Linked DNA regions of Homo sapiens: all the other regions are linked to region 1. Evidence: promoter capture Hi-C in 16 types of primary human blood cells and fetal thymus (Javierre and others, 2016). All regions are on one chromosome and are shown on one strand. Each heading gives the region's core, a stretch centred on a gene start or on the middle of the fragment in contact. The rest is flanking DNA. Distances are from core to core; before and after follow the strand shown.

Region 1 (5,410 bases), core at 1-2,500:
AACTTGTCCAACATGGCGAAACCCCATGTCTCTACTAAAAATAAAAAAATTAGTCGGGCTTGGTGGCGCGTGTCTGTAGTCCCAGCTACTTGGGAGGCTGAGGCAGGAGCATCGCTAGAACCCGGGAGGCAAAAGTTGCAGTGAGCCGAGACTGCCGAGATTGCTCCACCGCAGTCCAGCCTGGGAGACAGAGCCAGACTCCGTTTAAAAAAAAAAAACAAAAAAAGAAAAAAACAAAAAACAAAACCAAAAAAAGCCATGAAAGAGAGAGAAAAAAAAGAGATAAGACAAACAATGATAAGAGAATCAACTACACTTGAAACACAACAAAGCTGAATTTGGGAGGGAAAGGAAGTGCAGCTACGCTAAAAATCCTCATCCCACAAAGCGAGGCATCAAGAGACACTGTCTAACCTGATGGAAGGAGCAGTAATCCATTTAAAAACAAAAAAACAAAACAGAACAAAAAACAGCGAGAGAGAGAAAAAAGGATGATCCATTCGAGCCCACCGCATCTAATCATCTAATATTACGTACATTCACCTATTTTGCCTACCACGTGTCGGGTTCTGCGCTGGGCTCCAGGGAAACAAAAAAGTATGGCTGGGTCACCACTCCCCACTTACTGGATAAATGCTGTAAAGCCCTTTACCCACTCCGTATTCCTACTTGCCCTAAGGATGGGAGTGGGAATTGGAACGCAGGTCCGCAGATTAATATTCCCCATGTCTTCCCCAACAGTTTCCAGACTGGGAGAGGAATATAAATACAGTGTCGGACCATGTCCCGGGTCAACAACTAAAAAACAGTGATCGAATGAAAGAGGTTGTGGGAGCAGGGTATTCGCCACAAGGTGGGAGTTGTCATCTCCCCGAGAAGAGGTGTGTTAGGAGTCAGGTACCAAACAACCGGCCGTGAAACCGTAAGCAGTCACTATTCCTCTTTCCTCGGGATCAAATGGGGATAAGCCCAGGATCCCGCCCCCTTTGAGTTCAGAATTGGCCCGGAGTCCTGCCCCAGAGCAAAAATTCTTCGATCACCTCCAGGCATCTCTTCCCTACCTCACAGCTCCCGGCTGGTCTCATTTCAGATTCCCAAGTCCTGCCTCTGCACTCACCCCATTCGGGAGATTCTTCACGATCAGTCGCGACATGGCGCAGGGTCCCCGCTGTTTTGATTCCAACACGACTGGTCAGCGTCTTCCACCAAGTTTCACGCTACCGCCCTGGGCGCCGCCATCTTTACCGAGCCGGAACACAGTCACGTGGCTGAGACCTTGGCCTGACCTGTCCGGAAGTAGGCGTGGCTAATCCAAAACTACTCAGGGAGGTCACACCCCACAAGGGGTGGGCCTGGGCGCTTGCATTTTGCGCAGGCGCAGGGCCTTGGGCGGATTCTGTGAGACGCCAATGCAGCGGAGAAGGCGGCAGGGGGCGCCGGTCCCTAACATGCGCCGGTTTAGCTCGGTGTTAAGGGTCGCGCCAACCGGGCAATCGCGTTCTCTCCTTTTTCTTATTTTATTTTTATTATTGAGCCTTAGGACTCCCCTGAGAACGGGGGCAAGATTAGGGACCCTTGCCTTCCTCGTAGAAATGGGGAAAGTGAAGTTTAGAGAGATTGCCAGCCAACACAAATCAAGTATTGAGCCTTTTGTGTAAATACTTGGAATGAACATGTTGGAAATAAACGCTCTCATTTTGCAGGCAGATAAACTGGGAATCGTGCGTGTAAAGCAGCTTGCTCAAAGTCTTATAACTATGAATTGGAAAGTCAGATTCGAGCTAGGGACTGCCTAGGGCCCTACAATGAGTCTCTACGCCTTCAACCCCAGCCCCACAAGCATTTTGCCTCCCTTCCTAATGTTTGGAACTCTCAGCTGGCCAATCTTCTAGCTGAGAGATCTTGGCCAAAATGGCCTCTGAGCCTTTGTGTCTACTTCTATAAAATGGGAATAATTCTTTATTATGCTAGGGGTTAAGGAGGTGAGAACGTGAAAGGGATGTTATTTTCCTATTGCTTCTCTGAGCATTCTCGGTACCTACTCTTGGATGGAGACATCCTATGAAAACCCCTATTTTCACTCTTAAATGACGGTATTTCCTTTCTGTTTCCCCACAGTGCCTCAGCTGCACTGGACGTTGCTGCCAAGCTTCTGCAATTTCCTTCACCTAAAAGACATTCCGTCCCCCCTTCTTATTGTTAACAGCTTTATCACAAACCATGCAATTCACCCACTTAAAGTGCACAATTCAATGGTGCTGACTATATTTACAGAGGTGTGCAGCCATCACCACAATCAATGCTAGGACATTTTCATTACCCCCAAAGAAACACCACACCCTTTAGCTATAACCTTCCAATTCCTCCCTCTCCCTTCCCTCTGATAACCACTAATCTACTTTCCGTCTCTATGGATTTGTCTGTTATGGACATTTCATGTAAATGGAATAATACAATATGTAGTCTTTTGTAATTGACTTCTTTCACTTAGCATAATGTTTTCAAAGTTCTTCCATGTTGCAGCATGAATCAGCACTTTATTTATCTGTTTATTTATTTGAGACAGGGTCGGGCTCTGTCACCCCGACTGGAGTGCAGTGGCACAATCTCAGCTCACTGCAACCTCCGCCTCCCAGGCTCAAGCCATCCTCCCACCTCAGCCTCCTGAGCAGCTGGGACTACAGGCACATGCCACCATGCCTGGCTAATTTTTTTTTTTTGGTAATTTTTTGGTAGAGGCGAGGTTTCAACATGTTGCCCAGGCTGGTCTTGAACTCCTGGGCTCAAGCAATCCACCTGCCTTGAACTTTCAAAGTGCTGGGATTACAGACGTGAGCCACCACACTTTTTTTGCTGAATAGTATTACATATATGGATGTATTACATTTTATTTATTCATCAGTTGATGATGGACATTTGGGTTGTTTCCGCTTTGTGGCTACTGTGAATAATCTTGCCGTGAACATTTACCTGTAAGTTCCTGTGTGGGCATATGTTCTTATTTCTCTTGGATATATTCCTAGGAGTAGGATTGCCTGATCATATGGTAACTCTATGCTTAACCTTTTTAGAACCTGCTAACCTGTTATCCAAAGTGGCTTCCCCATTTTATATTCCTACCAGCGGTATATGAAGGTTCAAATATCTCCACATCTCCTCCAGTGTTTGTTATTGGGTCTTTATAATCATAGCCACTCTAGTGGGTGTACAGTGGTGACTCAATGTTTTGATTTGCATTTCCCCGATAACTAATGAAACAGCATCTTTCATGTGCTTTTGGCCACTGGAATATCTTTCTGAACCCATTCCCATCCCCTCTCTAAGACCAGCTCAAACATGGCATCCTCGAATATGCCTCTTTCCTACTGAGCCCCAAATGCAGGGAGCTCATGCATCTGCCACAGCATAAACCTACAGAACTCGCTGGTGAGGAGCGCACAGTGTAGGTTCAGAGTTATAGATGAGGCCACTTGTTCTTTCTACATTATGTTGCCATAGGGGCATCCTTAGATCCATCTTTGCAAAGCATCACACTGGGCACCAGGAGGAGACAGGTAATAGGAGTTCATTAAATGCTAATTGTAAATTAAGGTCTGTCCATTCAACAGAATTCTATGCAGTTGTTAAAAAACGGTAGGTATGTAGCTATAAATGTTTTTGAAGGAAATGCATCAGTCAGCAGGACACAGAGGTATACTCAAAAGGATTTAACAAAAGCAAATCTGGACAAAAAGCTATTTACAGAAGGGTGGGCAGTGTAGTGGGATGAATGATCCCCTGTCCCCTCACCACCACACACACTGGGGGCATCCTGACCCCTGGAAGCTGTAAATGTGACTTTATTTGCAAAAAAGTGTTGTATTAGTTTGTTCTCACGCTGCTAATGAAGACATACCTGAGACTGGGTAATTTATAAAGGAAAGAGATTTAATGGACTCACAGTTCCACATGGCTGGGGAGGCCTCACAATCATGGTGGAAGAGCAAGGGATGTCTTACCTGGTGGCAGGCAAAGAGAGAATGAGAACCAAGTGAAAGGCTTTCCCCTTATAAAACCATCAGATCTCGTGAGACTTATTCACTACCACGAAAACAGTATGGGGAAACCACCCCCATAATTCAATTATCTCCCACTGGGTCCCTCCCAGGACACGTGGGGATTATGGGAGCTACAATTCAAGATGAGATTTGGTGGGGACACAGCCAAACCATATCAAGGGTCTTTGCAAATGTACTTAAGGGTCTCAAAATGAGATCATCCTGAATTATCCTGGTAGACCCTAAATCCAATGACACATGTCCTTTTAAAGGACACACAGAGAACGTCATGTGTAGGTGGAGGTAGAGTCTGGAGTGATGCAGTCACAAGTCAACGAAGACCTGGAGCCACCAGAAGCTGAAAGAAGCAAGGAAGCGTTCTCCCTTGGAGGTTTTGGAGGGAGCATGGCCCTGCTGGTGCTTTGGGGGATTCTGGCCTCCAGAAATGTGAGAGAATAACTTTGCATTGTTATGCCATCTAATTTGTGGTAATTTGAGACAGCACCTGCAGCAAATGAATACAGGAAGGGTTAAGGGAACCAACAAAGGATGGCCAAACCCCAGGGCCTGGCAACAGTGGGGAGCTATCACCACCCCTGGGGCTGAAGGGCAGAGTAGGACATGTCATTCCTGAGCTTCAGTGATGCCAGGAGCCATGGAAGAGGGACGTACTTTAAGGACTAGAGCTATAGAGAGATACAGCCACTGTGGAACCACAGGTGTGTGTGTGTCGGGGATAAATACACTGTCCCCTCTTTCTCTTCCCAACTGCAGTTTCCTACTGGAGCCTCCCCTTGGCCGAACCAATGGGAAGCTGGAGGCATGATCACAGATGTTGCAGTGCACACAGATTGCATCTGGGGCACAGAGCAAAGTGGAGGAGCAGGCTCAGGGAATGGGAGATGGGCTGTTAGAGAAGAACTAGCACATGGGACATGGGACAATCTCCAAAATATATTGTTAAGTGAAAACCAGCAATATACTAAATAATGTATTATGTATGCTTTCACTTAGGTAAAAACAAAACACACACACAAAAAAAGGAGGGAGATGGGTGAGGATACATAGATACTTGTCATGTTTGTAGGCCAGGGTAGTCGTAAATTTCCAAATGTATTGTCTTGCAGTTCTGAAGGCTAGAAGTTCGAGATGAAGGTGTTGGCAGCGCCGGTTCCTTCTGAGAGCCGTGAGGTTGAATCTGTTCCTCCCTGTCTCACTTCTGGTGGTGTGCTGGCAATCTTTGACACTCTTTGGCCTGTAGACATGTCACCCCGATCTCAGCCTTCATCTCCACATGACAGTCTCCCTGTGTCCATGAGTTCATGTTCAAACTTCCCCATTTTAAAAGACATTGGATTAAAGCTAATTCTAAT
Region 2 (5,410 bases), core at 1,550-4,049, 7.7 Mb before region 1:
AGTATTTCTATTTCTTCATCGAACAAAAATTTTGATCTGCCCTTAGTCTTTTGCCAAGAGTGATAGACCACATTTAGTCTACCGTGTAATTTACAGGGAGAAAAAAAAACTGTATTACTGTGAGTTCTCTAAGTGGTTCAAAAAGGTAAGTTAGAAAAACTAGGTGTAATAATATGTCTTCTTCAAATAAAATGCTAATTATTTTACTTCTAAAGAGGTTGCCTTTTCAGATTTTGTTGTTTTTTTTTTTTCCTCAGAAAGCCATAAACATAACCTGAGCAGGGAAGATTTTGTGTTATGACTGTCTGAGCCCTCTGAGCAACAATGTGATACAAGGCTCATTTTTGAGGGAACTGCCTTATATTTTACAGCACTCCATTTTTTCAAAGTGTTGTTTTTGTTTTGTTTTGTTTTGAGATGGAGTCTCGCTCTGTCGCCCAGGCCGGAGTAAAGTGGCGTGATCTCGGCTCACTGCAACCTCCACCTCCCAGGTTCAAGCGATTCTCCTGCCTCAGCTTCCAGAGTAGCTGGGATTACAGGTGCGTGCCACCACGCCCAGCTAATTTTTTTGTATTTTTAGTAGAGACGGGGTTTCACCGTGTTAGCCAGGATGGTCTCGATCTCCTGACCTTGTGATCCACCTGCCTCGGCCTCCCAAAGTGCTTGGATTACAGGCATGAGCCACCGTGCCTGGCCCAAAGTGCTTTTATACACAAGTCAGGCCAAGGGCAGTTGGTCAGGTAATTCACAGAAGGGTTTTCAGATAGCAAGTTATTTAACATTAAAGTAACAGAAGATAGTATTTCCAGCATCTTTTCTTATCTCAGCTTGGTTCTCTGATGTTACAGTTGAACTTGCTTTGACAAAAGCTGCTTTCCTGGTGGCTTTGAGAGCTACATATCTGAACTTTAAAAGAAGTGTCATGCCTAGGATCAGGCAGCTGGTCACTCCAGTATAAAGGACAACTACCCTGACTCATGGTCACCTGCTCCAACTTATGTCATAGCTCAAAACAATACTTAAATCCTTACAAAGCTAACAAAGGAAGTAATGTTGCCATGTGTCATTGTCACAGAATTACCAGAAGTTTGGGGGATTTGGGTGTTCATCTTTCTATTGTGGAGTTTTTAGGGTGGTGATGGCAGTTGTGTGGTGGTTGTCATTTGGCAGGAATTGAAATTGGAGGCTTCTGTCATTCTGATTACTTATCCAACGAATGACACAAATAAGAGCATGTTTGTAGGGAAGAACTCAGGTGGGGACAGCACCTTCTATTTAATCTCTTAACCTGTATTATTAGGTTGTATATTTTAGGAGAAGAGAGGAAAGTGGCAAAAGGAGGCACAGATACAAATTTATACAGATCACCAGCTAAGTTTGGCCACAGTGGTTTGCCAAAGAATTTCAATAACTAATACTTAGAGTGCTTACTGTGCACCCTGCTAAGCACTTCACATGCTTTATTTCACTTTATCCTCAAAATAACCCAAGGAAATAGCTATCATTGTTATCCCCAGAGACCAAGATCTCATGGATAGTGAATGTCAGAGCCAGGACTGGAACCATAGAGGAGTCTGTGTTGTAACCACTGAACAACTGACTTTCTACCCTGCTTTAAAATGTTGCCTGTTGTTTGTTGTTGTTGTTTTTGAACGGTGGTGGCCAATCTGCCTCCACAATCCAGACATAATTTCGGCACTAAACAGAAATACTTTAGTCTATACAAACTTCATGTAAGTAGTTCCTGCATGAAACTATTTCCCAAGTAATACAGCACCGATTTACACCTGGCAGAAGGCATAGTTTTGATGTGAACAGTTGGGGGAAGCTTGTTTCTCTACACCCTCAAGCACGCCCACAGCAGGAGCTGAGCAGCAGGCCAGACGGCACAGAGCCCTCCTGGGACTGGTTATTTACATTAACCAAGGTGGAAACTTCTCCCGGAGATAGGTGCTGCCAAGAACCCTAGAGGAAGTAAGACGCTTTATCTTTTGCACGCACGCCAAGTCTTCAGAGGGCCTGGATGGGTGTGACTCCAAGGAGCTAATCGTCCCGTGCAGGTGCAAATCTAGACCCGTGTTTATGTGGAGGTGTAGACGCAACTGGAGATGACCCGGTTAGTGGCTGACGTGCGTGGGAAAGCCCACCAGCAGCGTTGTTGGTTGGGTTGTCTCTGTAAGTGTGGACAGTGTGTTGGTGGGCACCCAGTTCCGATTGCCCCGTCTAGACAGGGGTGTGCGGGCACTCAATGTTCCACGCGCGGCCGGGAGCTCGCAGTGTGGTCCACGCCAGTGCGCCTGGAAGCCCAGGGGATCTGTCCGGCACTCCACTGGAGGCTTGGCCCGCGGCTTCGCCCACCTCCCCAGAGCCCCGCTCAGCCCCCGCTCCCCCCGCTCAGCCCCCGCTCAGCCCCCGCTCAGCCCCCGCTCAGCCCCCGCTCAGCCCCCGCTCAGCCCCCGCTCAGCCCCCGCTCAGCCCCCGCTCCCCCACTCGGCCCCGCCCCCAGTGCCCTGGCAGGCCCCGCCCCCAACGCCGGGCGCTCCCGTCGGCTCGGCGGCCTCAGTTCCGTAAACACTTCTCACCCCGCCCCCGGCAGCCCGGACCGCACCACTCGCCGCGCGGGGGAACCGTGCCCTCTCGCATCCGAAACACCCTCCCATCCGAGCTGTTCTCGGCCTCTCTGGTTCAAACTGACGAAGACTGTTTCTCTAATAGGTTCAGTCTGTGAGCGCTCGGCTTTCGGAGACTGAAGGGCCCTGGATCCCCTTGCCCCGTCGCGCCGTCGTCCCCCCGCTATCCGGTTTTGTGATGGCCGCGCCGTGGCTGCCTCCCTAGAGTCCCTCAGGGCCCTTTAAATACCGCGTTGGGGGGGACACTGGGGCTGGGGGGGTTTGTTGGGCTGGTGAGTTTTCGAGGTGACTGTGCTGTGCTCGGTGAGGGGACGCCCAGAGAGCCCTGACCCGGGGTCACTCCGTCGCCGTTCTCCTCTTGTCTACGTGCTGGACCCGGTGCGTATCCATCACGGGGGAGGCGTTGCCGGCTCGGAGGTGACCGGCCAGGTCCAACGGAGGGGACACCGCTGCAGCCCGAAGGCTCCCCTGCCCTATCTCGGAACTCCATCCTGGGAAGGCGGGGTCAGGGGCCATCAAGCTCGGCTCCTAGTTCATGTCTTCCCACTCCGCGTCCCCTTGTTTGACCTCGAACTGCCGTCCCGCGTGGGAGCGGGGAGCGGGGCACCGAGTGGCCGCCCCGCGTGTCGGGGTGGACACGGACTTCGGGCCTCGGAGGCCGCTTCGCCGCTGTTTAAATCCTGCTGGACAGGTACCAGCGGCATCCCGCCATCAGGGGCCCAGGGCACCCCCTTCCCCCACACTCCTCGGCCGGGCTGGAGTAGGGAACTGAGCCAGGGTAGAGGCAGGGCGGGCCCGGCAGCGTGTGTTTGGGATTTGTTGCCGTGGTTTCCCCGGCACTCAGCTCTGCCTCCGCCGTCCCCTCCCCCAAGGGTTTGTTTTGACAGGAAACCTGGTGCTGCTGGAGGGGAGGGGCGGCCAGAGGACGTGGGTGAGGTCGTGCAGACTGCTGCTGCGTCCCCTTGCCGGGACCTTTGGTTAAGGGGAAGAGGTGGAGAAAAGCCGATTGGGCCTGGGCTCGAACGCTGAACCCTCAGGTGTTGCTTGTGCTTCCCAAAGCTGCTACTGTAGGTGGCACCACTGGGGGTAATAGCAATGATTTGAGGTGGCATATGGATGAACATAGTTACTTGTTTTCGTTACTATTAAGAAAATCTGTTCCATTAAGTAAGCAGTTTCACAATGATAGAGTTTCCTTTTAAAATAAATATATTTAAATGCAAAAATCTAGTCAAGATAGAGACGCGGTTACTAAATTATAGTAAAGGTAAGGAGGGAGACGTAGAAATAGTCATGAAGAGTGGCACTCAAACGACTTAAGTTTGGGAAATCTTAGATGGTTGTCCTGCTACCTTAACTGTGAAGAAACTGGACAAGTTGTCCTTGTCCCCAGTGGGTGTCTCAGCACCCATGGTCACCAGCCCAGTCAGGGACTTTGCTCTTCTTACCTGCCAACGGATAATGAGTTAATCTCAGTGGTTCCCACTTGAGGAGGCTCCCTGCCGTGGTCCTTTTCCTCTCTTCTCTAGGGATTTCATGCATCACCCTGACAGCCAGTGGAAGTTGCCTGATTTGAAGAGGCCCAGGGCCGAAGATACCCAGTCATGTGTGGAAGCAGCTTCAATGCCATTTTGTGAGAGGTTGAGGGCCCCAGAGGGGGAAGCACAGGTATTAAAACAAAACAGACCAGCAAGTGTGGGAGGAGTGCTTTCAAATGTGAAAAGTGCCAGGAATCCTTCTCCCTGATGCTGTAATGCCACGTGTAACGTGAACATCTGCTTTGTGGACAGTGACTGGCTTGTTGGCTTTTATCTAGCTCTTTGTTGGTTCTAACTTGATGAAGACCAGTATTGTCTAGATGAATGGTATGGGCCCCTATCCCTCTGCTCTATGGTTTTTGCTTTGCTGTGGATGAATAACTTTAGTGCTGCTATTTAAGACTGATTCTAAAGCAGCATTTTGCAGAAGATGGAAATTTTTCACATCATCTGCAATTTTTTTCTTTAGAGCCCAGACTTAGTCCTCTGACTCCCTTCCCTTTACTACACATATGTGAAGGCTTGTCCTTGCAGCTGACCTCGATCTAGTGTTGAAGGATGGTACACACTAGAAGTTTCTTGAAATTTCTTTTTTGCGTGAGCTAACCTTAACTGGATGGGTTCAATTCCTCAAGGCCCTGCTGGGTAATCTGAATATTTCACTCCAAAATGTTTATGACTGTAAGCAGTTAACCTTTTTGCTAATACGTGGGGTCTAACTAGGGATTTTGCGGTGCATAAAGAATGGCTCCCTCCTAGAGGATTTTCTGTCACTGTAGCGGGGTGGTGAAGAATTGTTTTGGGTGACGTACTCCTTCAGTGATGCCCTTCACAGAATAGCACTTGAGCAGCCATACCAGGATAAGATCAGCTTGCTACCACATGTGCAAGTGTCCACAGGGTGATGGGTAGATGGATTTGGCAGAGTGGGAGTGGAAAGAATGAGCAGCACACCAAATTTTCTCCAGCCAAACTGGAGTGGTAGAGAGCATGGGTTTTAGGGATCCGCTTCCTGGATTTGAGTTGTGCCTCTACACTGCTGTGAACCCTTGGGCAAGTAACGCAACCTCTCTGGGCCTCAGGATCTTATTATAAAATGGGGATAATACTGATACATTAGCTAACAAGGTTATAATAAGGATTCAAGGAGATAAAATATATAAAGAACTTATCATAGAACAGTTATTGAGTGCTTATTACTACCTCAATAATAAGCACTCAATTACTGTTAGCTGTAATTGT
Region 3 (5,410 bases), core at 874-3,373, 6.2 Mb before region 1:
CCACACATCACCCCTCGATCCCCAATACCCATTGGTAGCATTAAAGACAGAGCAGAAGGCAGAGAGCTCAGGGAGGGACCCAGGTTTGGAATTGCCACTGGGAGGCCTACAAAACAAAATTTTTTTTCTCAGTTAAAAGAAAATAGGTAATTAAAAATTCTCACTACAACCACTGGCTAAACTCTTAGAAAGGTTTTTACACATGGGCAAAAATCTCACCTACTAGCCCTTTTCATCCTTAGATAATGTGCAAATATCCACAAATAAGCCTAAAGAAAGTAGTCTTAGTCCCAAAGATAGTTTTTAAGTTAGTTCTAAACCGGCAAGTTGATACTCCAATTGTCTGTATTGCGCTTAAATACAAAAATATTTAATTAATTAATTTATCGATTGATTTGAGACGGAGTCTTGCTTTGTTGCCCAGGCTGGAGTGCAGTGGTGTGATCTCAGCTCACTGCAATCTCGGCCTCCTGGGTTCAAGCAATTCTCCTACCTCAGCCTCCTGAGTAGCTGGGATTACAGGCACACACCACCACACCCAGCTAATTTTTGTATTTTTGCTAGAGACAGGGTTTCACCATGTTGGCCAGGCTGGTCTCGAACTCCTGGCCTCAAGTGATCTGCCCACCTCAGCCTCCCAAAGTGCGGGGATTGCCACCATGCCCAGCCAAAATATTTAATTTAGAATTAAAAACCGAGTTTAAATACAAGAAAACAAATTATATAGAGAAAAAAACAATGGAAACATAAAATGTTCATAGGAGTAGTCCCTAGGTAGTGATAGTATGAAATTTTTTTGGTATTTTTAAACTTTATTGTATTTACCATTTTATATGGTGAGAATATTTCATTTCTACCTGGAAAACAACGTAGTTTAGTTAGATGTAAAACTGTACATGTACACCTTCATACAATCTTTTGTATATATGCTACACTTAGTGATTAATAAAAGCTTTAAACGTGAGATTATATCTACTTTGAGTTATATGTACTTGCAAAGTGAAGTGACTTTTACTGGGCTAAGTATCATAATAAATACCCACCAACTTGGTCAGTGCTGATTTGCATATTTTTGCCAGGGGCAATATTTTTTTTTTTTGAGACAAGGTTTTGCTATGTTGCCCAGGTTGGAGCGTAGTAGCATGACCATGGCTCAGGCAACCTGAGCTTTCCTGGCTCAAGTGGCCATCCCTTCTCAGCCTCCTATGTAGCTCCTACGTAGCTGGGACTACGGGTGTGTGCCACCATGCGCTGCTAATTTTTTTTTTTTTCTTTGTAGAGATGGGGTCTCCTTATGTTACCTAGGCTGATCTTGAACTCCTGGGCTCAAGTGATCCTCCTGCCTTGGCCTCTCAAAATGCTGGGATTATAGGCGTGAGCCACTGTGCCTGGCTGGCAATATTTTTTAACAGGCTTTTCCACCTTAACAAGAGTGTCCACTAAAGGGAATGCCTACAAACAATCAAGTGGGTTAACCACTAATAATTTTTTAAGATTTCTTTTGTGGACACTTAAACAAATGTGAAGAGACCCTAGTTTCAATGAATCTTATTTAACTGCTGCATTTTATTAATTAAGCAAGTAATTCTCTTTAGAGAACTATTTAAACAATATATAGATTTATTTATACTAACTCCTACTGTGACAAAGAAAGTCCAATACATAACAATGTCATTGATCCTAAAGAACTGACAGCTTATCATTGTAATAATCAATAGAATATTTATTCCATTTATATTCTATTTCAATAGAATAAGAAAATGAAGCTAGGCAGAAAAAAGGTTTTAAAAGTACAGTGACGGCTGGCGCGGTGGCTCACACCTAAAATCCCAGCACTCTGGGAGGCCGAGGAGGGCGGATCACCTGAGGGCAGGAGTTCGAGACCAGCCTGGCTAATATGGTGAAACCCCGTTTCTACTAAAAATACAAAAAATTAGTTGAGCATGGTGGCGTGTGCCTGTAGTCTCAGCTACTCGGGATGCTGAGGCAGGAGAATTGCTTGAACCCGGGAGGCGGGCGGAGGTTGCAGTGAGCCGAGATCGTGCCATTGCACTCCACCTTGGTCGACAAGAGCGAAACTCCATCTCAAAAAAGAAAAAAAAGAAAATGAGCCAGGTGTAGGGGTGCATGCCTATAATCCTAGCTACTCAGGAGGCTGAAGCAGGAGAATCACTTGAACCCGGGAGGCGGAGGTTGCAGTGAGCCGAGATCGTGCCCCTGCACTCCAGCCTGGATGACAGAGTGAGACTCCATTTCAAAAAAAAAAGGATAGGAAGAATGAATTTTTCCTATACGATTTTGCTGTGTATGGAGGCTCATGAGGCGTTCCATGTAAAAGCCCCAGGTAAAAGTACCACACTTCTTTCCACATTAATTCTAGACCTGGTACACTTGCAGTTATTGCCATTTAATTTCAAACCTGGTGGAATATAAAGCCCAATTCCCCATGCTCTCTGGGAATAGTTATTAGAGTAATTTTAACTGATTCTCTTCTATTAACCCAGGGAACGGGTACTGAAGTGTGAACCAGATGAATGGGCAGCCCTAAATAAAATGCCAAGTTAATTACAGCTCTGGACAAAAAGCTACCAACTCAGAAGAGGACTATCAGAAAAAATTGCTGCTACTATCCACTAGAATTCTAATACTCTACCTCTACAAAAACCTTATTTTCCATTACCTATCACATGTTGAACCACCATTCAGGCCTGCTTACCTTCTCCCTTCTACCTTCTACCCTTAAAGGGGCTCTGATCTCTTCTAGACTCCATTTAGAATTGATAACAGAGTTAAGTGTTGAAATGCAGTAGGTCTCCCTTACCACTCACCTGGGGCAGGGATGGCACTGTGAGTGGGTGAGGCAGCCAATCCCAGGTGACTTCCTGAGACTGGCAAGGCATTGCTCACAGAGGATGAAGTCAGCTGCTCCATCCCCACTGGACTCAGGTTCATTTCATTCATCCTAGAAAAGAGCACACACAACTAGTTATGCAAAAATTTACTCCAATGACTCTGTATTAAGATACTGAAGAAACTGAAACAGTGGGGATGGGGAAATGGGACTTGGCCAACTATTAGTTCACTTTTACGCTCAACAATTCTCTTAGATAGCTAGTGCCATATTCTTTCTACTGATAAGAAAACTGAGATTGAGACATTAAAAACTCAATTCAATGTCACATAGCAGAAATAGGATTTGAATTCTGCCTTGTTCGAAACTCTAGGCACACCATCTAAAGCAAAGTCTGCAATTCTTAGAGCACAATGGCAATGACAGTTTTTTTTTAAATCACTCAAGCTTCATCTTTTATAATATTTATTTTTCTCCAAATGGCTTATTATTTCAAACCAGTAGTGTTTTAGGCAGCGCATTTTAACCTACTCAAGTAAATTTTACTAATCATTTTTAATAGGAGTTAAAGATCCAGATTATCGATGATGTGAAAAGCATCGTATTTTCCCCATTCAGCAACAGTTTACTAAGATTCTGTATCAGTATATTAATGTCCTCCAAATATTGAGGGTCATTATGTAAGCTTTGCTACCACTTCACTTAAAATGACTTCAAATCCTCACACCAATACTGCAACGTAAGATAGATGAGGGAACTATGGCTCAGAGAGGCCATGTCATATGCCCCAAATCACATAGCTATTAAGTGAAAGATCACAGATCAAACTGCAAAACACTGCCAAAAAGTTTTTCATTGCACCAAACTTTTTTTTAACTGCACCAAACTTTTTTTTTAACTACAGACTATTTTTGGCAAGGTGAAGAACCTAGGAATCACCTTTTCTATGCAAACCATCTTGCACTGCCATTACAAATGTCTTTCGAATAAGAGTAATACTGATTTGAATAAAACAGCACTGAAGGTTGTTATCAAAAAGTATTAGTTCTTATATCATAATTTAGAGACTGCCATACTATAAACATTACAGAACCACTAGGCTAGCCAACAGGTTACCCAAAAGGGGCTCTCTAATGACCTCCAGTCCTTACACTGGGCTTTATTCTCTGCGTATGGGAGGGGGTGAAGCAGAGAAGAGGAATCAAATGAGGTTACATATTCCTTAGCAGTGAAATCAAATCTAAATAGGTTTTTAATTCTGAAAAATGGCAATGCCATTTTATCAATCAACCTGAAAATAATAATAGCTAAAATTTATGGCTCCCTTACCATGTGCTATGTATTGGGCTAAGTGATTTATATGTAACTATCTCTCTTAATCTTCTTTTTTTTTTTTTTTTTTTTTTTGTTTTTGAGACAGGGTCTTGCTCAGTAGCTGCAAGCTGGAGTGCAGTGGCGTGATCACAGCTGACTGCTGCCTCTACCTCCTAGGCTCATGAGATCTTCCCACCTCAGCCCCCAAGCAGCTGGGACCACAGGCAAGTGCCACCATGCCTGGCTAATTTGTTTTTATTTTGCAGAGATGGGGTCTCCCTATGTTGCCCAGGCTGGAGGTAGGTATTATTCTTAATCCCACTTTAAAGATGAGGAAACTTAAGATTCAATGATGCTAGGAAACTTAACCCAGAATCACATAACCAGTAAGGAGAGCTGGGATTTAAATTCAGAACTAATTTAAGAAACCAAAGCTCTTAACTATAGTAAGAAAAAGACAATTACAATAAAAGAACTATATTGCCTTTTACACAGTTGCAATACATTAGGGCCTATCTACTTATATTGTGGCGTATATTTAAAGTTCCACATAGACCTGTTTCTTGCATTATTAGGTTTCACCCTTATCCCTGGCCATGGATCCCATAAAACTAAGCTCTAAGACATCAATAAAATGTAAAAGGCCAACCTAGTACCTTGTATAGAACAGACATTCTGAATTTTCTTATTTTATCGGATGGAGCTATGCAAACTCATCACCCTTACCAGAAAGACAGCTAGAAGCACCTGGCAAATGAGGTACACCTTATGAAGAACAGCATGCTAATAACAGTTTTTATTATGCTATAAAATAAAGCAGCCCAGGTGTGGTGATTTACACCTGTAATCCCACACTTTGGGAGGCCAAGGCAGAAGGATCGCTTGAGCCCAGGACTTGGAGACGTCCCTAGGCAACACAGTGAGACCCCTGTCTCTACTAAACATTTTTTTTAACTTAGCCAGGCATGGTGGTTCGTGCTTGTGGTTCCAACTACAGGGGAGGCTGAAGTGGGGAGGTCGGGGCTACAGTGAGCTCTGCCTGTACCTCTACACGCCAGCTGGGGTGACAGAGTGAGACTGTGTCTTAAAAACAAAAAAAGCAAAAAATCCCTGTAGCCTAAAGAAAACATATCTACCTTAATTTTGAAAGTTGCTGGGCTTGAGTTGGTTTAAAACAGACTTTTCCCTAACTCTTTATAGCTACAACCATAATTAAAACACTACAATCACTACAGCTGTAACAGC
Region 4 (5,410 bases), core at 1,805-4,304, 5.7 Mb after region 1:
TCACAGTGTGATCCAGCTTTGCTTCCTGAGCCCAATCACGTCATGCTGAACCACCTATACGCGCTGTCTATCAAGGTAATGACATGTCTGTCCCCATGAGAGCTGTGTTGCCCAGTGTGTGCTCTGAGGACCCCCAGCAGTGGAATGACCTGGCGGGACTGACTTAAAGGGCAGCTTCCAGGGTCTGGCACAGGCCATCAGGCTCAGGTTCTGAAGCTGGCCCGGGAATTTGTGGTTTTATGAAGCCCTTAATGATTCTCATGTCCTCTGAGGCTTGAGCCCCTTAGTCCAGCCTTTGATCATTTCCACCTTGTTCCTTAGGATGGAGTGATGGTGCTCAGCGCAACCCACCGGTACAAGAAGAAGTACGTCACCACCTTGTTATACAAGCCCATATGAAGAGCTGGGGGCGGATGGTGGCCCAGGAGACAGCACACCACCAGGCTCCACACGTGCATGCTTTCCCCAAGAGGGAATGGACTGTACATTGCTCATTTCACACTCTTCAGAAGACATTTCATACCTGCCCTGGTCCTGCTTGAAGGTTTGTCCAGGCAGAGCAGCTCCTGCAGCGCCTCGGTCTGTGACAGTCCTCCTAGCACCCCCATGGCTTTGAGCCTCGGGGACTCATCAAGTCCAAGAAAAGAGGGAGGGGTGGCAGAGGATCTGCAGCCCTGGCCCCGCGGTGCATGAGGCTGGGTGCAGTTCTAAACCTACATTCTCGATTTTTCTTAAGCCAAAAATGAATGCTAACTCCTTTGCCAGTAAAATTCTGGGAAACAGGGACTGAGGCCACACATCATTTCCAGTCATCTGTGTGTTTTTAAGGCCAGCCACTTGTCCCTGTTGAGGCCTGGCTATGGAACTAAATACAGTGTTGGTCTTGCCTGTCCTTCAAAATCAACAACAGATTGTCTCTCGGCTCCAGGGAGGTGTCATTTCTATAGAAATTAGAAGCTTTCTGATTTCTAGATGAGGTTTTACAATTGTTTCTTACAGTCATGTGCACTAAGTACTCTTTTTGTAAGCAGAGGTGGCTGGCTCTGCAGCCTTAAGGCCATTTTTTAAGTCACCACGTCTAGAAGTCACATGAACTCTGCTCAGCAATAATCTGTTCTCAGAACAGACTTTTCAACCTGCTGCCGGATTTCTCCATTCAGCTGGATGATCCTCAGGACTGACCAGTTAGCTGGCAGGTTGTCCAGCTTTTTATTCCAGTCATAATAGGTGACAGTGTTAACCGTGAAAACTTGAGAGGCACTCTGCCCTCTTCCCTATAAAATCACACAGCGTGATTTTACAAGGTCCCGTGGCACCTTGCTCAGGACCTCTGCCCCTAGTTAGCAAGACTGCAGCAGTTGCTGTTGCTTATTCTGAAAGGAATGTAGAACTTGACAGCAGCCTTCTGAGTCTGGGTCAGGAAGATGTCCTTTGGACCAAAGCAGACTTCTTTATACGCAGCTCAGTTTCCCGGGAGTCGCCACAGATGTACCCACTAGCCCAGGTTGCTGTGAGTCAGCGGAAGCTCCCGTTATGCCCTTTGCTCCTGGTGGGAGAGGGAGGAGTGAGCTCCCTGGGTTCCAGTATTTACTTGGTATACCTGAGTTTGGGGGTACCCTTTTTTGTGACTTTTCAAAACAGTGAATTACTGTCACCTTGATGGACAAGTTTCAATAAAACTTTGTAAAAATAATTGGACATGTGCCTGGAGGAGCTCTGATTTTATTCAGTCCCTTGGAGAAGAGACTGGAACTCTTCGAGAGTTGCGTTTCAGTACCGTTCTTGTGGCTCTGAGCGGACAGGGCTACTCCAGCTGCCCAGGCCTGAGAACCAGTCCTGTGACTCACACCCATTCACACAGTTTGGAACCTTAAGGGACCCCTAAAACTGAGCCCCTCTGAACAGCTCAAGTCACAAGGGGAAGCTGAAGAGGGGTAACAGCAGAGGCTCCTGGCTTCGGCCAGTTGTTGGTGTCCCCAGGCCAGAGGGTTTGTTTCCTTTTGCTCCTAAACAAGCCCGGTGGGACAGCCTGGGATCGTGACCCTGGCGTGTGAGAGAGCAGGACGTTGTGGAGTCAGAGCTGTTTTCATCCACTAAAAGAGGCCGTGTCCCTCCTCCAAAAAGGTGGAAGGTTATGGGTGTTCCTTTAAGCCTTCTCAGGTATCAGGAAACATTTTAAATTTAGCAGAAAAGCATGCTAATGAGCTCTACCCACTGGTGCAGAAAACCCAAGCTGAAAATGCTATGTAAAATAAGACTGGTTTACTGGAGCCAGTCACCCCATGAGTTCTCCAAGCCCTGGGGCCACAGGGGACTTCCAGGTGAGGTCACTGCTGAGATGATGGAGGAGACACAAAACAAGAGGACATGGTCAGAGACAACACATCTCTGTGCGTATTCAAAGGATTTCATTTTCTTTAAAAAGCACATTATAGTCGGAAAGCCTGCCCACCAAGTGAAAGCCTCCATACCCAAGAAGCTAAAGGTTAATGGTGATTTTACAAAGGTGGAAAAGGAGACCTTGTTTTGCCCAAATCACAGGGGCAAAGCCATATGTCAAATCGTGTCCTATGACCAAGTAATCCTTTCTTCATTAGCATTTCCTTTATGGGTGAGGACTTAGTTAAAGCTTAACTCAAATTGCTTTTCAATGAAGATACATTTTTCCCTCTAGAAGCTGATATACAGATGAATTTATAGAGCCAAATTAAAGCCTAAAAAATTACTAAAATGTAAATCAGTATTGCAGGGCTAAGGCCACAAACAGGAAGTCAAAAGGCCAGACAAGAAAATTGTGCCTGCACCTCAGCTAGCTCAATTAGGAAATCTCCAAGGCTCCTAAAAGACTGAGAGAAAAAACCTGGAACATCATGATACGATCTGTGGCTGAGGTCAGAGACTGAACGAGCCAGTCTAGGAAAGAACAAAATTTCATTTTAATTCAGTTCCTTTTGTATGAGCACAGTTTCACTTTCAAGCATTTACTTCCCATATCTGATCCTCCTCTGCTATTGTGTCACCTTCAAAATTCAAATGTCCCCAATGTGATAGTATTAAGAGGTAGGGCCTTTAAGAAGAGATTAGGTCATGAGAGCCCCTCCTCTCATGAATGAAATTGAGGTTCTTATCAAAGAGGCTTCAGGCAGCATTCAGCTCATGTGCCCTGGCACCTTCTGCCATGTGAGGACACACAGCTTTTCTCCCCTGCAGAGGACCCAAGCACAAGGCGCCATCTGGGAAGCAGAGAGTAGCCCTCACTAGACAAGCAAACCTGCCCATGCCTTAATCTTGGACTTCCCAGCCTCCAGAACTGTGAGAGAATGAATTTTTGTTCTTTATAAATTACCCATTCTCAGGTATTTTGTTAAAGCAGCACTAAATGGGCTAAGACATCCACCAATGTTTACAAATGGTTTGAATGAATTGATGAAGACCCAAGACATGGACCACTCATCAAATCATAAAGTTTCTGAGGAATAAAAGCTTCAGCACTCATCTTGGCCAGCAAATTAGTGGAGAAACAAACTAGAGCCTTCTGCCCTGGTATGCCAACTATAATTGTCTTCAGGAGAAAACATGGAAGTTGTAGATACGTATACATTTCTTCTAAAACCCCAGTCATCCCTATTAATTGTAAAAACATCCACAGGATCCTCCTAAGAGTCATCGTCACTATAGTGAGTCAGACATTTGGAGAAGATCCCAAAAGCTGGAGCAGCAGCCGGAGCCCCGTCTCTGGGACCCCAGCCACTGGCTCTAGAACGAGCCACCAGGCTCTGCCCTCAGGGTGGGCTCCCACAACTACATTGTCGTCTTGTCTTTCATACAACTAAAGAGCCTTTCCCCAGATGAGGATGCCAGCTCTTACTGCTACCTCCCCCTAAAAGAATTCACCCATCCCATCTGAAATACTCAGTGGCCAGTGAGAACAGGCCAAGATGTGTATACCCTTGGTCGATTTTTTGTTTCCTTTTTTGTGGCTCTCTGAAAGACAGCCTGACTTATGCAGAGTAATAAAGTCATTTTCAAGGTTCTTTCATCTACCTCTAACAATCTCTCTAGGGCAAATAGAGTTCCGTTCATCATTAACAGACTCAAGGGAAAACAAAGTGATCAACACTGGACTCTATTTCCACTACCCCCACCCTCCCCAGCTTCAGGAAACAGCTTCAGCATTTGAGTGGGCAAATAAGAAACTATTTTTCTCATTTAACACTGTAGGCCTAGAGCCACGGTCTACATGCTTTAGACATCATTAGCAGTATTTAAATTGCCAAGGAAGACATGGGACTAAAACTAGAACAGACCACGGTTTCTCAACCTTGGCACTATTGAGGCTTTGGGCCAGATAATGCTTTACAGTGGGGGGCTGTCCTTTGCCTTGTAGGATGTTGAGCAGCATCTCTGACCTCCACCCATTGGATACCAGTAGTACTCCCGAGTTGTGACAACCAAAAATGTCTCCAGACATTGTCAAATGTCCTCTGGGAGGAGGGAAGCAAAATCTCCCCATGGCTTAGAACCAGTGGAACAAGCCAGTGTAACCACTGTATTCTGAGAATGGAATCTGAGCTGGCCCCCACGAATGCTTTCTATAGCAAATCACATTCAAGAGGTCCAATTCTGAAGACAGTCCTATTAAGCAAATTCTCTTTTGGCCTAACCCTCCAAATCCTAAAGTTCCATGGTTATGGAATTTGCTATGCAATCAACCTCTTTAGTCCGGTGACAATTAAGTTGTAAGCGCAGAAAACATGACATCTAATTTTGTGCTTATGAAACAGGAGTGGCCAGCATGAAGAGTTAGGCCTCATTTTACGGTGTGGCTGTGGAATTGGTTGGTTGTTTCTTTCGGGCTATTCCTTAGGGTTCAAACACTCTTCCTTGGCACTTCCTTTTGAAACCAAACTATGTTGACTTAGCTTTGGAAGTTTTCTGTGACCTCCCACAATCCTCTAGACAATCACTGAAATGCTTGGTTGATATTTAACAGATGTTTTTCTAATGCTACAAGGAAAGAAAGGTTCACATTTCACCACTTCATCTTCTGAATTATTTTCATTCTTACAACTACGACCTTGTGGCAGATTTTCATGCCCAACAGTAACATCGAAAAGAACAGAATTGCATCTGTGGTTCCCATCACAAGCAACAAAGACAGATACGACTCTGCGAGTCCAATTTTGACCGTGGTCAGACGACTTCATTAGAAAATAAAAATTCAAAGACTACAACCCACAGGAACCATGAAAACAAAAACATCACCATTTGCCAAAACCCGTTTGTCTGGATCGAGCAAGTTTATACTAACAAACTAAAGAATGAGAAAAAATTTATCTTGCAGACTGTAAAAGTTCCTCTACTTAAAAATGGAAGTATTTTCATTTTTAATTACCTTTGATTTGAATTC
Region 5 (5,410 bases), core at 1,965-4,464, 5.7 Mb after region 1:
TGGCCCACCCAAAATGATTTCATCCCTCACTCAATGATCTGTCCGTGGTGGCTAAAATGTTGACATCTGTCTGGTTGCCTGCATTTGAATGCTGGTTTCATGACTTTCTAGTTGTGTGACCTCGAATAAGTCACTTCATCTCTCTGAGCCTCATTTTCTCCTGAAAAATGCAAGTGGTAATAATAGTAGATCCCTCAAAGGACTGTTGGTGGCATTACATGAGTTCATACATCAAACACAATGCCGAGTGCATAATAAGGATTGATAAACAACTTTCACTTTAACACCTACAATCTCCAAATCTCAACTTGATTGTCACTTCCTTCAGCAAGCCTCCTCTGACCTCAGGACTTGGTCACATCCTTCTCACTAGGTCACACTTCTCCTTCTTAGCGTTTGTCACAGAAGACTGTTGGATGATTGTTCGATTAATTTCTCTCTTCCCTACTAGATCGTAAACACTCAGGACAGAGCCTGGGTTTGATTTTGCCCACAATTCTCTCCCCAGTGTCTACCACAGTGCCCGGTGGATAGGAGTTTTTGCCATGAAAAAGTTATTGATAAAGAAATGAATTAATGCAATTAGAAAACTGAAGGCCTCTGAAAAAATCAATATTAACTAGAACAAGTGCCATGAACTAGTTAGGTTCTGATGGGCTAGATGACATGAGTCATGAGACACTTACAGGGAAGGACAGGGTGCGGAGAGGTTTATTTTGTAAGACAGTTGCAGAAAATAAATTGGAAAAAAGATAAACTGTACACCTCTACCATTTGTTCTAGGACTAACCCTATTTTCTTTGAGGTAAAATTCATACAACATAAATGTTAATTTTAAAGTAGACATTTTTAAGTGAACAATTCATAGGCATTTAGTACATTGACAATGTTGTGGAACCACCATCTATGCCAAGTCTTAAAACATTTTCATCATTCCAAAAGAAAGCCCTCATTCCCTCTTCCGCCAAGCCCGTGGTCACCACCAGTCTGCTTTCTATTGACATGGATATATCTATTCTGTATATTTCATATAAATGGAATCATATAATATATGACCTTTTGTGTCTGGCTTATTTCACTTAGCATAATGTTAATATTTTTGAGGTCATCCACATTGTAACATGTAACAGTACTTTATTCCTTTTTGTGATAGAAGAATATTCCACTGTATGAACATACCACAATTTGTTTATAATTCATTTTGTTATTGTTGTTACAGAGTCTTTCTCTGTCGCCCAGGCTGGGGTGCAGTGGCACAATCTCAGCTCACTGCAACCTTCGCCTCCCAGGCTGAAGCAAGTCTCATGCCTCAGCCTCCCAATAAACTGGGATTACAGGTGTGCGCCACTACAACCAGCTAATTTTTTGTATTTTTAGTACAGATGGAGTTTCACCATGTTAGCCAGGCCGGTCTCGAACTCCTGGCCCCAAGTTGATCTACCCACCTCGGCCTCCCAAAGTGCTAGGATTACAGGTATGAGCCACTGTGCCAGCCTACAAACTCATCTCTTGGTGGACATTTGGATTCTTTCCACCTTCTGTCTATTATGATAATGCTGCCGATCCCTGTTTTTTAAAAGTCTCCATGGTTCATCATATCAAGAAGAATGATAATCTCACAGTACCCTGGACCAGAAACCAAGACATAAGATCCAAATTATGATCTATGACCACTAACTTTTTCTATAATTCAGCAAGCTATTGTCCCTCCTCATCTGTAACCTATGTGGTTGAACTAGGATTTTCATGCAATTAGTGTGTCTTGGGAGGTGTTTCTGAGTATTTATTTGGAAGGTGCTCCTAAAAAGAGATAAAGAAAAGGAAAGGAAGATAATCAATGAATTCCTTGATCCAATTACTGCTGTGGACATCTAGGGTGCATTTCCACTGGGGACCTCTGAGACACGGTAGGGAATATATCTTAGTTATACGAGAGCTAAAAAGAAATTATTTAGACAGTTAGTGAGGGTAAGAGAGTCCTCAGTAAGGTTTTTCTTTTAATAAAAACGCAGTCTCCAAATCATTTCTTTTTTTAACAAAAAGCAGCCTGAAAAATCAAGCTGCAAGCATAGATAAGCAAGCTAGAGGCTTGCATAGGTAAATACCAGCAGCTGTGCCAATAGAAAACAGATAGCTGGAAACCAGGTATATTCAACATGGAGGTTCCCTCTTCCCTTTTCTTTGTTGCCACGTGTGCAGATAACATGGCACCAGCCAGGTTTTTTAAAATTCCATTTGCATAATAAAAGATTAGAGTGGGATGACCAGCCTCTTCACGGGCTATGAAAATGGCACATCTGGTCCAACCAATCCACTACACCCCATGTAAATCATATACCATCTCCTCACGCTCATCCCTAAAACCAACCACACCTTGCCCCAAACCAGGGAAACCCACTCAGGACCCCTTCTTCTGCATGAGGAAGCTCTCTTCCTTCTTTCATCTATTTAACTTTCCACTCTTAAACCCACTCCTTGCATGGCCATGTCTTCAATTTCCTTAGCATGAGACATCGAACCTCGGGTGTTACCCCAGAAAAATGACGCTGCTTCATTAGAGTTAGCACATCCAAGGGGCAAGGGAACTGGCTCCTCTGTGGTTGGCTGAGGGCTTCTCTCAGGGTGTCTTCTCTGGTCCCCTTGGGTTCCCACTTGTGTCGACAAAGCTTTCTCCAGAAGGCCCTCAGAGTTGCACCTGCTCACAGTTAGGAAGTTTGGGGCATGCGCAGAAGGGCACATGCAGATGGGGTATGATGGTCCCAACAGCATATGTTAAAGTGATTATGAAACTTTGATATTCAAATCCCTGGGAGCTTACATTTTAAAGAGATGAGACAGAGACAGACTTCCTCTCATTGTTTTCACCTCCGTTGGATCTTTGCCTGGATACTGCTTTAGTTTGTCACTTGTCCTCTAGAAAAGGGGTAGAAAGTGTACATCCTTTTCTCCTCCATTCCTTCAAAGCTCTTAAAAGAGGATAGAGATGCCAGGTGCAGTGGCTCACACCTGTAATCCCAGCACTTTGGGAGGCCGAGGAGGGTGGATCACCTGAGGTCAGGAGTTTGAGACCAGCCTGGCCAACATGGTGAAACCCCGTCTCTACTAAAAATACAAAAAGTAGCCAGGCGTGGTGGGGTGCGCCTGTGGTCCCAGCTACTTGGGAGGCTGAGGCAGAAGAATCGCTTGAACCCGGGAGACGGAGGTTGCAGTGAGCCGACATTGCACCACTGCACTCCAGCCTGAGTGAAAAGAGTGAAACTCCATCTCAAAAAAAAAAAAAAAGAGGATAGACTTGAGGTGAACTTTATTAAGAACATTGTGTTACCTTGAACTGGGCACTTCTCCCTTCTAGGTTTCAGCTTACCCTGTGAGTGAAGCTATTTATTTAAAAAAAACTTTATTGAAAATAAAATAAAGATACAGGAAACTACACAAAAGAAATGTATGGCTTAGTAAGTTACTACAAGGCAAACATGTTAATAATTACCAACCCAGGTCAAGAAACAGAATTTTCTCAGACAACCTAAAAGTCACAAAATGAGGCTATTTGCCAATTAAGGTTGTAGACCAAATGCTGTAGAATGAACTTCTTTTAATTCTATGTTGATGACTCTCTGTCACAATATTCACATCTCAGTGCAAAGAGAACACAAGAATGTCTAGCAAGAAAAGATGGACAAGTTTCTCAAACATTGGCAGTGTTACTTACATTGGCTAGGCAAAATTCAGAAGGCCTGGTGGAAATCTGGTTAAGCCCTAAAAGTAAGCTTGTAATTCTATCCTAGCAGCCCACACACATTTGAGTCTGTCTTAGTCAGCTCAGACTGCTATAACAAATCATCAACTGGGTGGCTTAAACAACAGAGATTTACTTCTCCCAGGTCCGAAAGCTGGAAGTCTAATATCAGTGATATAATTTGGATACTTTTCCCCCTAAATCTTACACTGAAATGTAATCCCATGTTGGAGGTGAGGCCTCCAACATGGTGGGAGGTGACTGCATCATGGAGGTGGACTTCTCATGAATAGTGTAGCACCATCGTCTTGGTGCTGCCCTCACAAGATCTGGTTGTTTAAAAGCGTGCGGCACCTCCTCCCACTTTTTTTCTTACTCCCACTCTTGCCATGTGATACATCAATACATCGGCTCCCCCTTGGCTTCCTGAGGCCTCACCAGAAGCAAGCAGATACCCAGAGCCATGCTTGCTGTACAGCCTACAGAACCATAAGCCAAGTAAACCTCTTTTCTTTATAACTTACTCAACCTCAAATATTTCTTTATAGCAATACAAGAATGGCCTAATACAATCAGGGTGCCAGGATGGTTGATGTGTGGTGAGGGCTCTTTCCCTGAGTTGCAGATGGCCGCCTTCTTGCTTTGTCATCACATGGCCTTTCCATTGAGCATGGGCGTGAATAGACAGCATGCGAGCAAGCTCTCCAGCGTCTCTTCTTCCCATAAGTACCCTGATCTCATCATGGGGGCCCCACTCTCATGAGCTCATCTAACCCTAATTACCCCTTGAAGGCCCCACCTCCAAACATTATAAAATTGGGAGTGGGAGTGCAAATGTATGAATTTTGGGGGGATACAATTTAGTCTACAGCATAGTCCAAATGTGAAATTTCTTCCTCCAGCTACCGATGTTTAGTGAGAACACTGCCTGTTCTCACCACATGTGCATATGTGTGTGGACTCTTTCCTCTGGAGGGCAAGAACTTGGTTTTGTTCACTGTTGTAACCAAGAGTTACAACAGTGCCTGGCTCATAATTGGCACTCAATATTGCCATTGAGTTATTTGTGATCAGAGCCCTGGCTGTTCTTAGATGGGGAGGGTTCTTCAGAACAGTACAAATGTTTGTAGACAGGCCAGCTGGGGAACCAAAGGTCTTTTTGATGAGGTGCCATGACCATGATGTAGTGGGGAGTGGCCAGGTGATCCAGAATTCAGTCTCAGTATGACCTATGATCATCTGAGTGACCTCAGGCAAAACTGTTCGATCTCTGGGACTTAGACTCTTCCTTATATAAAACAAATGGGTTGGTCAGTTCAGAAGTGCTATACTGATTCTAATCCATCCTATGGAGGAGGCCCCAAAACATTATCCTTAACCCTTTTAATCATAAATTTAAGGATAAATGAGATTTTATCTCACTCTGGGTGACTTTTAAGGACTTGAAAACCTACTTCTTTTTGTGCTTGGAGCTGGAGTGAATTTGAAGCCAGGGTTGCGGGGGTGGGGGAGGGGTACTCCTAGCTGTGGCTGTGTTAAAATTGCCCTGGTTTGTTTGGGGGAGAATCTAGGGTATTTATCATTTGTCTTTGCCCTGGTGCCAGACAGACAGCAGTGAGTAGATGATGCCTTTTACACAGCAATGTGCTAACAGTTATACTTCCTGGCACACCT

What was found. Contacts are between HindIII fragments. The CHiCAGO score rates a contact against its expected background, and 5 or more counts as called.
Region 2: the fragment with the promoter of TCP11L2 here is called in contact with the fragment with the promoter of RBM19 in region 1 in 1 of 17 cell types (total CD4 T cells); the score reaches 7.1 in total CD4 T cells.
Region 3: a contact is called between a fragment that was not itself captured here and the fragment with the promoter of RBM19 in region 1, in 2 of 17 cell types (activated CD4 T cells and total CD4 T cells). The highest score is 5.9, in activated CD4 T cells.
Region 4: a contact is called between a fragment that was not itself captured here and the fragment with the promoter of RBM19 in region 1, in 1 of 17 cell types (total B cells). The highest score is 5.9, in total B cells.
Region 5: a fragment that was not itself captured here is called in contact with the fragment with the promoter of RBM19 in region 1 in 3 of 17 cell types (monocytes, total CD4 T cells and total CD8 T cells); the score reaches 10.3 in monocytes.

Annotation. Positions count from the first base shown.
Region 1 is chr12:113,965,075-113,970,484 of GRCh38, forward strand. It overlaps RBM19 (RNA binding motif protein 19), which reads right to left and starts at 1,251. Exons shown (of 24, transcript NM_016196.4): 1 at 1,118-1,251. The coding sequence starts at 1,153. RefSeq lists enhancers at 1-601, 602-1,529, 1,488-1,557. The HindIII fragment of the contact is 5,534 bases long and covers 1-2,147 here.
Region 2 is chr12:106,299,934-106,305,343 of GRCh38, forward strand. TCP11L2 (t-complex 11 like 2) reads left to right here and starts at 2,800. Exons shown (of 10, transcript NM_152772.3): 1 at 2,800-3,008. RefSeq lists a silencer at 2,438-2,557 and enhancers at 2,578-3,463, 2,638-2,717, 2,728-2,867. The HindIII fragment of the contact is 6,335 bases long and covers 1,827-5,410 here.
Region 3 is chr12:107,754,004-107,759,413 of GRCh38, forward strand. PRDM4 (PR/SET domain 4) reads right to left here. Exons shown (of 12, transcript NM_012406.4): 3 at 2,829-2,962; 4 at 1-106. It overlaps PRDM4-AS1 (PRDM4 antisense RNA 1), which reads left to right. Exons shown (of 5, transcript NR_120474.1): 4 at 4,272-4,389. Among named protein-coding and RNA genes, the nearest start is that of PRDM4, 4.4 kb to the right of the region's middle. The HindIII fragment of the contact is 2,346 bases long and covers 951-3,296 here.
Region 4 is chr12:119,679,927-119,685,336 of GRCh38, forward strand. LOC124903033 (a long non-coding RNA gene) reads right to left here. Exons shown (of 2, transcript XR_007063485.1): 1 at 5,396-5,410. PRKAB1 (protein kinase AMP-activated non-catalytic subunit beta 1) reads left to right here. Exons shown (of 7, transcript NM_006253.5): 6 at 7-75; 7 at 322-1,693. The coding sequence ends at 399. Among named protein-coding and RNA genes, the nearest start is that of PRKAB1, 14 kb to the left of the region's middle. RefSeq lists enhancers at 1-480, 2,076-2,135, 2,306-2,435. The HindIII fragment of the contact is 854 bases long and covers 2,628-3,481 here.
Region 5 is chr12:119,659,957-119,665,366 of GRCh38, forward strand. The region is part of intron 1 of PRKAB1-AS1 (PRKAB1, TMEM233 and CCDC60 antisense RNA 1); the gene reads right to left. Among named protein-coding and RNA genes, the nearest start is that of PRKAB1-AS1, 5.5 kb to the right of the region's middle. The HindIII fragment of the contact is 1,101 bases long and covers 2,665-3,765 here.